Regions from separate parts of the Homo sapiens genome. Here region 2 is linked to region 1. Evidence: promoter capture Hi-C in 16 types of primary human blood cells and fetal thymus (Javierre and others, 2016). All regions are on one chromosome and are shown on one strand. Each heading gives the region's core, a stretch centred on a gene start or on the middle of the fragment in contact. The rest is flanking DNA. Distances are from core to core; before and after follow the strand shown.

Region 1 (3,532 bases), core at 320-2,819:
AATGAATTGCATCAGTGTTTCCAGCGTTTCAGCTGTGGGCTTCTACCACCACTAAGCCGCTCACCTAGAGTTGTTACTTTTTTGATGGGATGACATTCCATGGATTTATGTACTGAAATGGATTTCAGATTTTAAAGAGAGGAATGCTCTACGTGCTCAGAACTGAATTAAAATGGCATTATGTCAATAGAGAATTCAGCTACCAAACAAGAAGTATTGTTTATTTTGCGATATGCTGTGAAATTCAAAAGAAATGTAAGAAATAATCTCTTTTCAATATACTGATCATTTAGTTAACTTCCTGAGGGATGTGAACAGTGAAACAGTTGGCAAACAAAACAATATATATCAGGCTTGTGTAGTAGTATAAGGTGCAGATTGTGTGATATGATTTTTATTATTTATTTTTTGAGACGGAGTCTCGCTCTGTCACCCAGGCTGGAGTGCAGTGGCGCGATCTCGGCTCACTACAACCTCCGCTTCCCGGGTTTAGGCGATTCTCCTGCCTCAGCTTCCCCAGTAGCTGGGACCACAGGCGCGTGCCTCCACGCCTGGCTAATTTTTTTGTATTTTTAGTAGAGACAGGGTTTCACCGTGTTGTTAGCCAGGATGGTTTCGATTTCCTAACCTCGTGATCCGCCCGCCTGGGCCTCCCAAAGTGCTGGGATTACAGACGTGATTCACCGCCCCCGGCCGTGATACGATTTTTAAAGCTAACATTCAGGGCTTATGTGCCGGCACTTTTCCATGTATTTTTTAAAAAGTCATTCAGCAAACATGCACGTGAGGGGGTGGTAGTCAGAAGACCGCGGAATGAACGATCCCGAAGCACGTGGGTGGGAGGAGAGCACCTGTCACCAGCGCTTTCTCCCAGGTGTGCTGTGACAGAAACCGGCAAGGGTCTCCGCAAGCTGGGGCCTGAGCGCGGCTCCCCAGACGGCCGCGACCTTCCCCAGGCAGGGCTGGGCTCTGGACCCTCCCCTCACTTCCCAGCGCCTCGGGCCATCCTGCTTCTCCAGGCCTGAGAGGAACTTTCTGGAAGTGCTGCGTATCTTCAAGAGGCCGGCCAGAAGTGAAAGCCGCGGCAGGCCTGAGCGCCGGCCCCAGGGGAGGGGTCCCTCGGGCCCTCGTCGTCCCGGGGCCGCTTCCCCGACTGTAAATAAGTGTCTTTAGGATGAAACGCCACGCGATAGTGTCCTCGGAACCTTCGCACGAGATCCAGCACACAACATCCGACCACACACTGGGGCGGCCAGCCTCCCGCGTTCGCCCGCCTCTGCTCTTGGTTGCTTCGGGCGCGCATTTCGGTCCACGGATGACCTTTAACAGGTCTCCTGCAGTGGAACCAGGGGTGAGGGCCTCGTCCAAGGGCGTGAGGGGCGCGTGGAAATGGAACAACCTCCCAGGCTCGCATCCTCCTCGGGGACCTCCCAGAAGGCTCAACCGGAAGAAAACCCGCGACCCGCGCGAGGACAGCGAAAGCGCAAACGCCGGCCGCCAGGAGTCGCAGCGCGCCTGCGTCCAGTTCACGCTCCGGCTCCCAGGCGCGCCCCGCCCCCCGGCCCGGAAGTGCGCAGGCGCTGGCAAGATGGCGGGAGGGGTGCTCCCGCTGAGGGGCCTCCGCGCCTTGTGTCGCGTGCTGCTCTTCCTCTCGCAGTTCTGCATTCTGTCGGGCGGTGGTGAGTCAAAGGCTGGGTTCAGCGCCGGGTGGGGCTGAGTGGCAGCAGGGCCCCGGGAGCTGCGAGGAGGCCGGGCCCACGGGCGGACGCTGACGCGGGGAGGAGGCCGAGTGCCGGGCTCCGGGCCGCTTGTCGCTGCATCTGGAGTCTGGCGCCCTGGCCGCCCGGCCCGAGGCCGCCCCTCCGCTCCGGCGACACCGAGCCCGCCATCGCGGCTGCGGAGCCCTGGCACGGAGATGGAGCGCTTGGGGGCTGGGCCGGGGAGGCGGAACTGGAGCGCGATGTCATCCTTCGGTCCCTCGTTGCCGGCTGACCTGAACTGATGTCTACTCTGTTGACGTTTCGTCCCTAAGCTTTGTGTTTTCTGGCTGACCAGCCGTGAGGTTTTCATGAGCAGCTTATTGGCCTGGTGTAGACCCGCCGTGTTAACCACACAAAATAAGGTTTTCTTGTCCCGGGATAACGTGTTTCTCTAATTGTACGATCCTTAAATTTAGAGCAATCGCAGGCGCTGGCTCAGTCAATAAAGGATCCGGGCCCAACACGCACATTCACAGTAGTTCCCAGGGCAGCAGGTACTAGACGTTTTCTATTCTAGTAAATACATGTAGTTATCTCTAGTAGTTTCTCTTTGTTTTTATAAAAATTCCCTTTAGTATACGAAGTCACTTTCCATTTTTGAATATTTATTGTATTTTAGATTATGTGAATTAAGGGTAGATACACAGCCATTTTCAGTAGATAGTCTTCGTATTTATACCTTTTGACGTTTCTGCCTCCTCTCTTTTTCCAATCCCACGCTCATTTGTCACCTTATTTCTATTATTTTTCCACTTCATCCATCAAAATAACCTTCAGTCCGTGCTTCTTTCCCTTCAGCAAATTTCCTCTACTGCTAAAACCCTGTTCCTGATGTTGGAATATTAAAGGCTCCCTCAGGACTGTGGAAATGGAAGGATTACAGCGGGACTGATGGAGACTTGAAATCTAGATCTGGTTTTGCTACTGGGATCTTGAACAAATTATTTATCCTCTTTGGACCTTGGTCCTCATCTTTAAAGCGGTGGGGTTGGTCTGACGACCTAAAGTCATTTCTGCTTTGTGATTCTAAGTGTCCACCTTCCAGCCACATAGTCACGGGATCAAAAAGAGTATTTTGTAGAATTGTTCCTTAATACAGTGAGTAAAGTAGGACCAGTTTTAAACAAGCATTAGTGTGTTTTGCTAGGTGGAGGCTCTGACTATAATTTCATCACTTTAAAGTGACATTACTTCAGTGAATTGAAACTGGCAGAGATATTTTACTGATTCTTATTTGGATGTAAAAAACAGCAGTGCACTTGAATTTTAAACTCAGATTACTTTTTAGAGAAAGCACAAGAGTTCTTAACTCTTGCAGGCTTTTGAAAGCCCTTCTTTTCAGGAATACTTGCAATTTTGATCCTTTCAGTTGGTAAAAATACATTGCACACTCATTAGGTTGGTTGGAAATAAGTTGCAGCTTACTGAAGATGTTATTAAAGTAGAGAACTGTTTTGAACTTTGGTAGCGTAAAACTGTAAATATTATATTAGCAAATGTGGCTTATCGAAGTACCAGTGTGAAATAATGACATTTTAAAGTTGATGCCCTGAGGATGTCAGTGGCTTCATTTCTGAATTAGTGAATTCAGATGAAAAGAACACGGGATTGGAAATGGAGAGATTTGGGTTCTAGTTCCAGTTTTGCCACAGACTTCCTCTGTGATTTTGCAAAACCCTACTGTAAGTTTTTTTTCAACTTACAAAATGATAGTCTTTTTTTTAAGCCCTTAATGTATACCCAGAATTTTCTATACATTATTTGTATATGAG
Region 2 (3,532 bases), core at 772-3,271, 1.3 Mb after region 1:
ATGACAACTTTTACAATTGATTCTGCAGCCGGGATGATATATTCTGCTATTTCTTTTTGGTTGATTCTAAAAGTTGAAAATCATTGCACAGTGTTTACATTATGATTTTGATATAATTATTATATAAGTCTTTTCTGAAGTTAAGCATGTATCATGACTATATTTCCCTTTGTTGTGGGATATTTTGGCCCTTTTTTTCTTTCCTTCTGTCTTTTGTGTGTGTGTGTTTCTGTTTAGCTTCTGGACACTGGGACTTCCATTTCCTCTCTGATGGTGTCAGCAACACAATGCAAGCACCACATTCATTGTTTCCTAGGGAAGCTAAACAGTTCCATTCCTGGACCTATACCATGGGTGGGTAGAGAGGCTGCACACAGGGACCAACTAGCCATCTGGCTGCTCTTGCAGATGTACTTACCCTGCTCAGCCTACAGGTTGCTTTTGGGTGCCCTAAATTTTTTATAGCCACTTCTTGCACACCTCCATTAGATGAATGCTTTCATATAAATCTTTAACATGCCTTAGAATTAATTTTAGTTTGTGTTATGACTCTGTAGTTGTTAGCTATTGCTGCATAACAAATTAGTCCAAAACTTAGTGACTCAAAACACTAATAATAATTTATTTTCTCTTGTTTTTTTAACGGTCTGGAATTCAGCCAGGGTGGACACAGTGGGAAGGGCTTGTCTCTACTCATGGTGTTTGGGGCAGACTCAAAGGCTGGGGGCTGAAATCATCGGAAGGCCTGACTGAGGGTAGAGGATCTGCTTCCAAAATGACTCACTCACATGACAAATTAGTTGGTTCTGGCAAGTTGGCCTCCTTTCCAAGAAGTGCCTCTCCACACATGTGCTTCTCTGCAGGGTTGCTTGAGTGTCCTCATGACATGGCTGGTGGTTCCCAAAAAAGCAAGTGATCCAAGAGCAACATTCAGGAATAAGTTCAATCCTTTCTATGACCTAGCCTCAGAACTCACAAAGCATCACTCTCAATACGCCCTATTCATCAGAAGCCAGGCAGTAATTCCAGCACACTTTCTAGGCAGAGGAATTAGGTACACCTGTTGAAGGGAAGCAGGTCATAATTAGAGGATATATTTTTGAACCACCACAGAATCTAACTTAGGTTCGTACAAATATATAAACAGCTGTCCAATACCACATATTGAATAGTCTATCATTACTATATCAGTCTGAGCCATGACTATTTGCATTTACTAAGAATGTGTGTTATTACCATTGAAGACCTTCCAGTGGGACAAGATGTGAAAGCAGAAGACAGTGGTATTGATGATCCTGACCCTGTATAGGCCTAGGCTAATGTGTGTTTGTGTCTTAATATTTGACAAAAAGTTTAAAATGTAAAAAATAAACAACTTCAAAAGTAGGAAAAAAGCTTATAGAATAAGGATATGAAGAATGAAAATATTTTTGTATAGCTGTACAATGTGTTTGTGTATTCAAGCTGTTATTAAAAGAGTCAAAAAATTTAAAAATTCTTAAGGTAGAAAAGTTACAGTAAGCTAAAGTGAATATATTATTGAAGGAAAGAAAATTTTTAAAAATAAATTGAGTGTGGGCCTAGTGTACAGGGTTTTAAAGTCTACAGTAGTGTACAGTAATGTCCTAGGCCTTCGTATTTACTCACCACTCACTTACTGACTCACCCAGAGCAACTTTCAGTCCCGTAAGCTCCAAGCTTACGGTAGGTGCCCTAGGCAGGTGCACCAGTTTCAATCTTTCATACCATATTTTTACTGTATCTTTTCTATGTTTAGATACACAAATACTTACCATTGTGTTACAGTTGCCTACAGTGTTCAGTACCACACTGTACAGGTTTGTAGTCTAGAAGCACAGCCTACAGCCTGGGTGTGTAGTAGGCTGTGCTGTTTAGGTTTGGGTAAGTACACTCTATATTGTTTGCACAATGATGCAATTGCCTGACGATGCATTTCTCAGAACGTCTGCTCACTGTTACGCAACGGAGGACTGTGAATTGGGAGTTTATTTTGTTTTTCAGTCTGTACTGGCAGCGAATCATACATAGCTTAGTTTATCAGACAAGCTGCTTTTCTTGAGCAAAGAAAGAACTAGGAGAGAAACGGGGCTTTGGAACCCTGATGCGGCAATGCTGAAAGAGGAGAAATATCCCAAGGAAGGGAAAGGTGTGTTGCAGAACGATGAAAAATAGGCGGCTTCTCACAGCTGTTCTCAGGGGACGAGACGGGGTGGGATGCAGCTCCGCCGGTGCCTAACACTAAGGGCCCTCATCCTGCCGATTCAGTTGTGTCGGGACCGCCAGTGCTGTCTCCTCGTCAGATGCTGCTTCTGGTCTCCCCGCAGAAGATGCCACTGGAGTTGCCTTTTCAAGGATGGGGACATTTGAAGGCCCTGGACGCTCAGCTCTGAGGCTGGCTGGGATCTCACTAGCACCCCCTGGTGGAGGCCGGAGCCAGGCTGACGCGGGAAAGTGGGGCACGGAAGCGCTGCGGATTGGACCGGCGGCAGCTAGGCCGAAACGCCTGTATTTAAAGGGATAGTAACTCGGACTCGTTCTGCAATATCCCCACAAGGGCCTGACTGAGCGAGCGAGCATGGACGGCCGCGGGGCTTTCTGGACAGTGGCCATTCCCAGAGCCAGGCAGGAAGGCCTCGGGAGGCTGGGGCTCCCGTTCCCGGTGAAGCGGACGCCGCCAGCGCCCCAGAACCCAGGAGGAAGCACACAGGCCCCACAGAGAGTGGTTGGCAAGAGTCACTCGGGGATTAGGATGCCGGCCAAATCGCGGAATTTGAGGCTGGAATCCAAGCTCAACAGGAAAGTAGTGAAATACAAATGGGGAAAACAGGGCTCTGGAGCGGGGAGGGAGCTGGTGCCGGCATTTCCCACCAACGCCGGTTTAGGAAGACGGGACCGATGCCGGCCGCCCCCTGCTGGAGGGGATGTGGCATCTCACGGGCTGCCAGGGAGCGGGGTTGGCTACTCCTGCAACCAGCGTGAAGAGGGTCTCAGGGGAGGCTGTGGTGGGATCCCCCACGTGCCCTTGTTCCTCTCACCGTTACCTCTGGATGCCTCGGGGCAAAGGCCTTCTTCCACCTATAGACAGAGTCTACGCAGGGGTCTTGGAACCCGGGCACACCAGTCCCCAGCTAACGAAATCCCCGAGTTGGGGGATTTGAGAGGGTCACGTTTGGCCCAAGAACCCGCAGTCCTCTTTGGTCTTCGGCCCTCTATTTCTAAGCGTGGGCTTCTGGCACGGCGGCTCTGGGCACAGCCCATGCTGCTTTCGGGCTGGGTGGTTTCAACGACGACAACAATTATCACAGTGACGGTGACCTTCACCCCAACAGGACTGCTGTGTGTGAAGCACTCAAGAGGGCCCCTACAACCAACCTGCCAGGAGTCGGCTCCTGAAAACAGGGTCGGAAAAGGTCAGTGCCCATCAGAATCGAGCTGTCGGCAAAAAGCTGGAGAGGTTAGGAGCTTTGTCTATCTCAAGGGTAACAAACTGCTTTGACCCTGAGGGCTCTGA

What was found. Contacts are between HindIII fragments. The CHiCAGO score rates a contact against its expected background, and 5 or more counts as called.
Region 2: a contact is called between the fragment with the promoter of SPATA41 here and the fragment with the promoter of TM2D3 in region 1, in 1 of 17 cell types (neutrophils). The highest score is 6.0, in neutrophils.

Annotation. Positions count from the first base shown.
Region 1 is chr15:101,650,418-101,653,949 of GRCh38, reverse strand. It overlaps TM2D3 (TM2 domain containing 3), which reads left to right and starts at 1,569. Exons shown (of 6, transcript NM_078474.3): 1 at 1,569-1,679; 2 at 2,177-2,254. The coding sequence starts at 1,589. TARS3 (threonyl-tRNA synthetase 3) reads left to right here. Exons shown (of 19, transcript NM_152334.3): 19 at 1-354. RefSeq lists enhancers at 275-1,165, 1,272-1,331 and silencers at 992-1,181, 1,422-1,981. The HindIII fragment of the contact is 10,431 bases long and covers 1-2,034 here.
Region 2 is chr15:100,349,207-100,352,738 of GRCh38, reverse strand. It overlaps SPATA41 (spermatogenesis associated 41), which reads left to right and starts at 2,021. Exons shown (of 2, transcript NR_028139.1): 1 at 2,021-3,532. It overlaps LOC105371021 (a long non-coding RNA gene), which reads right to left and starts at 3,133. Exons shown (of 3, transcript XR_007064777.1): 1 at 3,057-3,133; 2 at 1,794-2,364; 3 at 595-1,060. RefSeq lists an enhancer at 2,594-2,853. The HindIII fragment of the contact is 2,620 bases long and covers 1,701-3,532 here.